Linked DNA regions of Homo sapiens: region 1 is linked to region 2. The links are contacts of gene promoters, found by promoter capture Hi-C in blood cells and fetal thymus (Javierre and others, 2016). All regions are on one chromosome and are shown on one strand. The core of a region is centred on a gene start or on the middle of the fragment in contact, and the rest is flanking DNA. Distances in the headings are between cores, read along the strand shown. Region 1 has its middle 54 kb from the start of CDCA2. Region 2 holds the start of EBF2 (EBF transcription factor 2).

The links. Contacts are between HindIII fragments. The CHiCAGO score rates a contact against its expected background, and 5 or more counts as called.
Region 1: a fragment that was not itself captured here is called in contact with the fragment with the promoter of EBF2 in region 2 in 1 of 17 cell types (M0 macrophages); the score reaches 5.6 in M0 macrophages.

What each region holds. Positions count from the first base shown.
Region 1 is chr8:25,510,599-25,515,507 of GRCh38, reverse strand. No RefSeq gene overlaps it. Among named protein-coding and RNA genes, the nearest start is that of CDCA2, 54 kb to the right of the region's middle. The HindIII fragment of the contact is 4,480 bases long and covers 1,126-4,909 here.
Region 2 is chr8:26,043,553-26,048,197 of GRCh38, reverse strand. It overlaps EBF2 (EBF transcription factor 2), which reads left to right and starts at 2,785. Exons shown (of 16, transcript NM_022659.4): 1 at 2,785-3,469. The coding sequence starts at 3,339. RefSeq lists an enhancer at 1-269 and a silencer at 4,571-4,645. The HindIII fragment of the contact is 12,164 bases long and covers 1,466-4,645 here.

The DNA.
Region 1 (4,909 bases), core at 2,116-4,615, 530 kb after region 2:
TAGAATTTATTTACATTTGGAGTTACTATTATCAGAGTTCATTTAAAAAATATTTGCAAAAAGTAGTCTATTTAAAAGTATTACCACAAATGCAATTTCTTAAGACAAATCTCCAACTTTTTAGAAAGAATGCCACCTGCAAGCTGTAAATATGTGCATTAATTTTTCCCCATAGTATTTGCTTTGGCTGTGACCTATCCGAATACTCAGTTGAACAAGGGCTAAAAATTGTCAAACCGAATTCTTGCTTGAGAGCTGAACTCTTAACTACAGCCAGTTTGAGAGAAACACATATCCAGGTTTAGGGAATATGTTTTGTTTGTTTTGGCTATGACATAGGGCAGAACAGTTTCCATCCCTTCGAATGCATTCAAGAGAGTCTGAAATATTGCACAATAAAAGCCATTCATTATATCTGTCTCCTTTCCCTTCCAAAAACAAAAATGGCTGCCCGGTTCCAAATCTACACAGGGGGCAGGAAGAAGGGAGGCAGAGGGTCACTGGAAATCACCCAAGACTAACACCAGGTTTTTCAGGTTTGAGTCAGGGAATACTTCTGCAATCTTCATTCCCAGCGTTTACTTAAAAAAGAAAAGACAAGACTGGCTGCTTTATTGATTATTCCTCTGTTGTGAACAATTAGAAAATGGACATACTGTATTTTGTACAAACGTTAGGCAGAAAATCTTACATTTTACTTTCGAGTGATTGGCATCCAAACTAAATGTACTTGAACTGAAAAAATCCCATTTTACTCATCTTCTCTATAACGTTTCAACTGTTTGACCCCCATTTTATACTGAAAAATTATTCCCATGTTTGAATCAGACATAGGGATGAACCTATTTTTGCAAGCACCTGCTACTTAGCAGTTATGTGATGTGAAAAAAGAAGAAATTATTGACATTTACTTCCTTGTTTCAACAAGGACCTGGGATATGAGAACACTGGGAATGCAGTTTGTTTTTCAAAAGCAAAAGAAATGCCAGTATCAGATCACTGTATTTGACATTATAAAATATTATCAAAGTGGAAGAATTTTTAAAGCAAACTTTAAGACAGTGAATAAACCATGAGAATAAATTATTAGATATGGCAAATATATGTACTTTTAAATTCCAAGCTTAAAAATTCACACACATACACTTAAGAATTTGGAACTTCAAAAACTTAAGATAATTTGACATTTCTTCAATTACATCTAAAACCAAAATGTTAGCTGTTTGCATCCCTGAAGGCAACTTATTATCACAGAACATAAATCAAGATAGTCAATTTGTATGCCTAGGATAAATGAGAAAAAGACTTAGTCAGCTTTCCAGGTGGTCACCGGAAATTTTGTGATGAAATCCCAACTTACCCTTTAGAAAATGCAAACCTGTATTCTTCTTTAATGTAAATGCTTATTTATTTTCTCTTTTCATGTAAGAGATATAACGCTTACAAAGTATCAAAAAATTAAAAGCAGTTTCAGAAAATATTTGCTTCTCAATTGCCTAGAAATTTCTAAAAACCTTTCTAATAAATCTTTAAGGTCATATCAAAATCAGGCTAAGTATGATCTTGGTTGAAGATGTGGAACAGAAATATGTATCAGTTGAAAGGCAGTAATTACTTATCTTCTCATTTAAGCTATGTTACTCGCAGTCTGTAACACAATTTCATAAACAGAAAAGCATCAAAGAATATGCAAAAATGAACACACCTGCACAATATTAGACAAACTTGAAACTATTAGGCCATAGTATGTTAGTAATTAACCCATTCTAGAGCTAAATCAAGGCTATGCAATAATCTTCAAATAAATTTAAGACACCCCAAAAGGGGGATGTACAATTATTTGCTGTAATTTAATCCCAATTCCACTCACTTGGTCTAGGACTCCAAACCCACAGTGAAACCCTTTAGACACACTACAAAGACACCCAATAGTATGAGACAGAAATGCCTAAGCAATTGAGAACAGAGCAGGTTTCTTTAAAATTTTAGGTACAATTCACAACTTGTAGTCTAGTTTCAAATCCATGCTTTTCCAGATGTATTTATAGGTTAGAATTTAATGAAAGTTAAAAAATACTTAAAAGAAAAACATGAGATGAAGCCAGCCTGTATCACCTAGTCTCAGTTTAATGAATAATGAAATTATTGAATAATAATCAAAGGAGATTTGGAATGGGATGTGCCTTTTGGGTCCCCATTCCTCTAAAACTCCTATTAGTGAATTTGGCTCAAGCATCACTTATTCTGGAAAGAAACTAAACTTGCGTGATCTGAAGGTTGATACCCCCTGGAGGGCTGACAGGTTGGGGTATCTCTTTTTTATCATACCCTGTATTGTAATTTTGTCCCCTTACAGAAAGAAAACTGAGCATCTTGAAAGCAATTTTATTTAGAAATTAATGCCTGGCACATAGTAGTTGTTGAATAAATGGCTGGCAAATTATTTTATTAATGAGTCCATAATCTGCCTACCTAGAATGAGCTGGTGCAGGAAAATTTTCCTACATTAGGAAACAATCCTCAAATGCTAAGGTTACTGAGTAAGGACAGTGACATTTATTATTTATTTGAGAAAGGGTCTCGCTGTCACTCAGGCTGGAGTGCAGTGGCACGAACATGGCTCACTGTAGCCTCAACTTCCTGGGCTCAAACGATCCTCCCTACCTCAGCCTCCAGAGTAGCTGAAACCAACCATGCCCAGCTAATTTAAATTTTTTTTTTTTTTGTAGAGGAAGGGTCTTATCGTGTTGCCCAGGCTGGTCTCAAACTCCTGGGCTCGAGTAATCCTCCTGCCTTGGCCTCCCAAAGTGCTGGGATTACAAGTGTAAGCCACCATGCCTGGCTAAGTTTTACACTAAATCAAACTATAATACAAACTTCAATTTATGAAAATAAATGAGTCATGCTTATTAGGTAATTTTTTAGCAAATTGAATTTTGAATCTTATTTTAATTCACCTTATTTTCTTACTGCTATACAGAGTAGTGTCCAGAGAGAGAATTACTTCTTGATGACTGAATCTTTTAGTAACTTAGGGTCAAATTTTAAATCATAAACCATAGTAAACTAGTTTCCAGAGGACTAGGCTGAACGCAGAGGCACCCAGAGAAGTTGGTTTCCTTGTTGTGTCTCTGATAGCCTGTCATTGCTGGCTTCACTTCTTGCACCCAAATGGTACTACAAGTCTGGGAATAACTGAAGGCCCCAGACAGATGTGGCTGGTCAACCTTTTGCTTCTTCTGGCCTCCTCTCTACCCTCCAAAAAAACCCCTAAACTATGATTTTAAAAAATCCAAAACTTTCTTATATAGTCACAGTGGTATATTGGTAGAAGAATAGACATACAGATGAACAGAATAATGTCCAGAAATAGATCTACACATATAAGGTCAAATAATTTTAACAGAGGTGCCAATGTAATTCAATGAGAAATGGTTAATCTTTTCAACAAATGGTGTTGAATGATTTCCATTAAAAATAAATAACCCACCTTCATCTCACACAAGAAAATTAATGTGGATCTAACACTTAAGTGAGAGCTAAAACTATAGAACTGGAAGAATACACAGGAGAAAATCTTTGTGCCTTTGAGTTAGACAAAGATTTCTTAGCTAGGACACAAAAAGCATGAACCATTAAAGTAAAAACAAGGTAAACTGGACTTCATCAAAATGAAAATCTGTTCTTCAAAAGACACTGCTAAGCAAATAAAAAGACAAGCCACAGAATGGGAAAAAATATTTTAAGAGACATATCCAATAAAGGATGTGTATCCAAATGTACAGATTCTTTTAACTCAATAACAGTAAGACAATAACAGCAACAACAAACGTGGGCAAGAAATTTGGATAGACATCACAACAAGGAAGATATAAAGATGGCAAATAAGCATAGGAAAGATGTTCAATATCATTAGTCATTAGAGAAATAAATCAAAACCCATGAGAAACTACTGCACACATCCTAGAATGGCTACAATGAAAAAAGGCTAACAATACCAGAGGCTGGTGAAGATGTGGAACAAACAAAACGTGTTGCCAGTGGAAATGCAAAATCATGCAGCCACTATGGAAAAGTTTAGCAGTTTCCTAAAAAGGTAAACATATATTAATACTACCACCATACAGCCCAGGAACCCTACCACTAGATATTTATGCAAGATAAATGAAAACATGTGACTATAAAAAATGATCCATATGTGAATTGTTACAGCAGCTTTATTCACATTAGCCCCAAACCAGAAATAATCGAAATATCCATCAAGTGGTAAACTGATAAACAAGTTTTGGTACATCTATAAAATGGAATAAACAAGTATCAGCAATAAACAAGTATCAACTACTTACAGCATGCAAGCATGGGTGAATCTCAAAAGCATTACGCTAAGCTAAAGACACAAAGGGGTATATATTATATGATCTCATTTGTATGACATTCTGGAGAAGACAGAACTGTAACACTAGAAATCAGATGAGCAGTTGTGAAGACCCGGGGTTGGCAGGTAGAAAATTGACTACAAAGAGGTGGGAGGAATTTTGGGGTGACAGAAATGTCCTATTACTTGATTGTGGCACTGGTTACATGGCTGTATAAATTTGCCAAAATTCTGGATGCTTTAAAAACGCGAACTTCACCGTAGGTTAATTATACCTCAATAAACTTGACTTTGAAAGGTAGCTCTTTCAATCTAAAGCATGAACCAGGTATAATTAATCATTCTCTCCTCCACATACCAGGTCTAAGGCCCACCCTCAATTCTGCAGCTTAAGTGGAAGTAGAGGCAGTAGTGACAGAAGATGGAAGCAAAATGGCATTAAGTAGTAGGAACAGAAAATGAGAGGCAGAAAGAAGGCAAGGATGCCAAAATGTGTGTAAGGGGAATGTGCCAGCTAAGATCCACAGAAGAGAA
Region 2 (4,645 bases), core at 1,536-4,035:
TTGTGTTGCACGAGATCGAAAAGGAGGTTTGTTTGGGGGTAGCTGGAGGCGACAGAGGTGGGAGCAACCCTCCAGGCGCAGCCGCCGCTGCTCATTCCCCCAACCAACGCATGTTTCGCGCGGGTGGCGGACTCCGCGAGCATTCCTACCCAAAACCTATACAGACGCAATTAACCCCAACTGGGTTGGCCGAAACGCCGCCACGCTGGGCCCAAGGCAGTCCTTGTCCCCTCACGCTCGCGCAGGCACTTCAGCCTGGCCAACAGGGAACTTCAACGCCCGCAGCGAGCCACACAGCCATCCCTGGAGCTCCCAGCAGCACTGCCGCGGGGGGCGCCCTTAGCGCAGCCGGCAAGTAGTGGGGAAGCCCCACTCTGTCAAAGTTCGGGACCACGGCTCCCCCAAATTGCCTCCCAGCGGGGCACCGAGGCCCCTGAGCGCGTCTCGGGGGGTTGGCTGGGAGGAGGGGCGCCCGCCGAGCGCGGCCCCGTCTGTTTTGGGGCGGGCAGCAGGGAGCTGGGAGAAAGGAACAATTCATTCGCTTCCTGAGGGGGCATAATTTGGGTGGCAGCTGTTACCGCCGAGAAAAGCTGGTGCCCTCGACCCTGACTTTGCCCTTTAACCCCAGCCAACCTGAGCCTGAGGGGTAAACTGTTGGGGCTTGGCCCAGGCCCACTGCTGACCAGAGGCCTCTCCGGGTGCCCTGCGCACCTTTCCGGGGCAACGTGGAGGTACAGCTGATCAAAGCCCCCTTGAAAAAAAAATCACCGGGCTCATAGGCATGTCTTGAAGGGCTCACGGCTGTTCCACACTCTCTGCCAAGGAACTCAAGGCTTTGGCCCCGCTGGGCGCAGACCCCAGACGAAGGGGGTGGGGGGGAGTTGCTTGAGGTTCGGAGAGATTTATAAAGAGAGACCGTAGAAGACTCCAGGTGATCAGTTTTTGCTGGGACCGAAATTCTCCGTAAAACCTGCATGTAACAGAGAATTGCCGAGTTGAAACAGGGCAGTGAATCTCATCCCTACAAATTTCCCTCCCTACCCCCTTCTTCCTTTGGACACTCCTGTCTTACTTGGCTTTTACTAGCCACCCGATCCATTTCCCAATCGCCCTGTATGGCTCTCCCGCCCCTTCCAGTCCAACAGGGAGGACCAAGCCAGAGCTCTGGGGTCGGGGTACCACAGTCAACACAACCCAGAGGCGGGGGGTTTACCTTCTCTACCTTCCCCCAAATCAATGACCCCAGTCCCTGGATCCCGGGGCCTGTGCAGAGACGGTCCGTGCACCCGCCCCGCAAACTCCCTAACCCCCTATCCGTTTTCAAGCGAATCTCCGCAGTTCGGACCAGCACTTCCTAGTCGCAATCCCGCGCACGCAGCGTGGTGCCGCGGTTTGTCCCTTGGGGAGGTGGAGGCGCGCACCGGTCCCTTTCTCGAGAGAGCCGAGTTTTCTTGAAGTGCAAGCTTCCTGTCAGCCTAGGCAAACCAGTTGCAAGGCGCTGTGTCCTCTAGCGGCAAACTCTAGCAGTTCATTTGCGAGCGCTCACCTACACCTAAGGGATCTGGTCTCTCAAATCTGAGACCCAAGAGGGGAGAAAGTGCCCTGAACGCAGTCCAGGCGCTCGCAAATGCCCTCCCCGTAATGAGACCGGGAGACTGGGGCGCAATCGCTCGAACTACGAACAGCTGATTGTCTCCTCCACGGCAGATGGTCTTTGAGCACAGATTTGCATTCATTGTCTTCAAATCTGTTTTCGCGCTGGTGTTCTAGATTTCAGCAGCAGCAGATCTATGCGCAGATCAGAATACAAAAGGAGAAGCAAGAAAATGACACCCAGCCAGGAGGATGTTTAATAGGCACCGCGAGCAGCCCCGCGCAGTTAAAAAACCGTCTAGGGTTTCAGCTGTTCGGTGAGGCTGCTGCCACCGCCTGCCGGCCACCAGCCCGCGGCCAGCACCGCGGCGACCGCGCGCGGTGGGCGAAGTTTCCACGACTCCCCCGTCCCTCCCCGCCCACTACCGGGGGCTTCGGGAACGGAGAGGTGGGGAGGGAACCGGAGGACCCGCGGGAATACTCCCCGGCCGCTCGCGCACTCAGCCCGCCTCGATCTGTCAGCAACCTCTCCTCCACACGGGTGCGACTGCCGCTCGCGCCCGCCCGCCCGCGGGTGTTTTCCTTAGGTCCTGGACCGTTTTCCCCAGCACTGTATTTGAGCAGCACTTGCCCCTCGCTTGTCCGCCCCACCCCATCCCCCGCCTTCTTTCATATGTTCTCCACTCTCAGCAACGTGCAAGCCGCACACAACATCTGATATCACCATGGAACTCCAGGAGACCTGGGGAGCCATTCAGGGAGCTGGGTGCTCTGGGGGACGTTTGCGCAAAACATAAGCACATGTGGCCACGCTCACAAGCATGCACACAGATCCGAACCCCGGGAACGAACGTGCCTCCCGGCAGGCTACAAAAGCCTACATCTAGAGGCAGGATCCAGGGAGGCTTCCCGCAGCCAGGCCGAACCCCTGCGTCCCCAGCCCGCAGAGACCTGCTACCCTAAGTCAGTGCAGGGTGTGGGGGCCCCCCAATCCTGCGCAAGCACACGGGGTTCGTGCTAGGACTCGACGCCCGCAGCTTTCTGTCCCCTTTCACCTCCCGGAGTCCCGGCAACGCAGAGCGTGGCGCGCGCCGCCGGAGGACGTCGGCCCGGCTTGCCAGGCGCCGGCCAATCCCGCGCGTCCATGCAAATGAGGCTCCTTATCGGGCCGCAGCTCCGCCTCCCGCAGCCAGGGCCGTAGTAACCCATTCATGGGGCCCGCGCGCGGCTGCAGCCGGGCTCCGTGGCGCTCGCAGCCACCGCCTCCTCTCGGCTCCAGGTCTTCCCCTTCTTTTTACAACTGATCCTGTTGGGGATTTTTTTTTTTTCTAAATTGGAACGGTGGGGAGGAGCAGGGAGGGGGGACCTGGAGGAAGGGGAGAGATTAGGCAGCCATCAATTTCCTCCAGTTTCTCCCAGAACAGGTGATGCTTCTAAATTGTGATCACTTTCAGGAGGCAGCACTGCAGCTGGAAGGATGCGAGCGACCTAGGGTGGAGTGGCTGAGGCGGCAGATCTGAACTTGCGGAGGATAAGAACCCAAACTTTGACTACATCAGTCCGCACCTCGCCAGTGAAGCAAAGGACGGGTTATCTTTTTTTTTTTTCTAAGACTCAAACTTGGGCACTTGATCCCTTTTCTTGGATTGCTTTGGAGGAGACGATTTGCTGGCAACGTTGGGAACAGTCAGGACTGTGTTGTAACTCTTACTTTTAAAGCGACAGTAGAGGATCAGACTTTTTAAATGTTTGGAATTCAAGATACTTTAGGAAGAGGACCAACTCTGAAAGAGAAATCGCTGGGCGCGGAGATGGATTCGGTCAGGTCCTGGGTCCGGAATGTCGGAGTGGTGGACGCTAATGTCGCCGCGCAGAGGTAACGACACGGCCGCGCAATTATTATGCTGTCTCTCGCTCTTACGGTCTGTCTCTCCGTGTGCACCCCCCCCGCGCACCCCGTGCCTTTCTCTCTCCCTGTCCCCCCATCTGTCGCCCAGGCCCTGCGCGCTGGGGCTCGCCCTCGGGCAAGCAGATCGCTGCAGTCAGGCGAACGCTCACCCGGCAGCCGGCACTCGAGTTCCTGAACTGCCTGGGTCGTAGGCGTTTCTCTCCCTCTCCTTTACCACAGTCCACTCTTTGCAAGGAAAAATAAAGTAGCCCCCAACATCTCCCAGCTCAGCCCCTAGTCCTGCAAGCCGAGCCGGCCTGGCCCCGAACGGAGCGTGAACACCGGCGCTGGCAGTGGCGGCGCGGGAGGAAAGCCGGCTTCCTGGCCACTCTTGGCTTCGCCACGCCGCCTGCGAGCGCCTACCTCCCGCATCTTGCTGGGCGATTCCTGGAGCCTGGGAGGCCGGCGGCCAGAGGGTGGCGGCGGCGAGGGGAGCGGGAAAAGCCGGAGCGGCTGCCCGGGAAGACGAGGCGGCCGGGAGCTCTGGGAGGGGGGACAGGCTGGAGGGTCCCGGCTCAAAGATAAAACAGTGAGCCAGACGAACGGAGCTAGGGAACTGGAGAAAAGAAGAGATTTAAAAGAAGAGAAAATACTGAGTCACAGTAGAAAGAGTTGCGGAAGAAGAAAGAGGCGAGAAAAGGCCACCAGCAGCTAGACTGGCTCAGGGATCGCCAGCCTCTGGTTTTGCGGATCCCTGAAGTTGACTTTGTGTTTAGGCGTCTGCGTGCTGGGATAGTAAATACCATGTCCGGGGTGCCACCCTACGAAGACATTACGGTCCCACTCTCTCATCACCACTACTGAGTTGGGATTTGTGGCCTCCAGGTCCTTGTCTGCGAGAGAGGCAGCCCTTCTACCCCCAAAGAGCCGATGAACTTCTTCCACTACCCTCGCTTCCCCTGCTGCCCTCCTGGCCACCCACATTTAAGTGCCAACATCACACGGAGAAATGATCCCTTTCCCAAACTGGCCAGGTGTCCCGGGTAGAGCGAACCGGCCTCTACCCTTGGAGCGGAGAAAGCAGAAGTTTTATCGCTCCGGGACTTGGGCCGGCGGCGGTTCCCTCCCTCCTGTGGCCCGGGGAGCGCGGATTTCCCTCCGGCA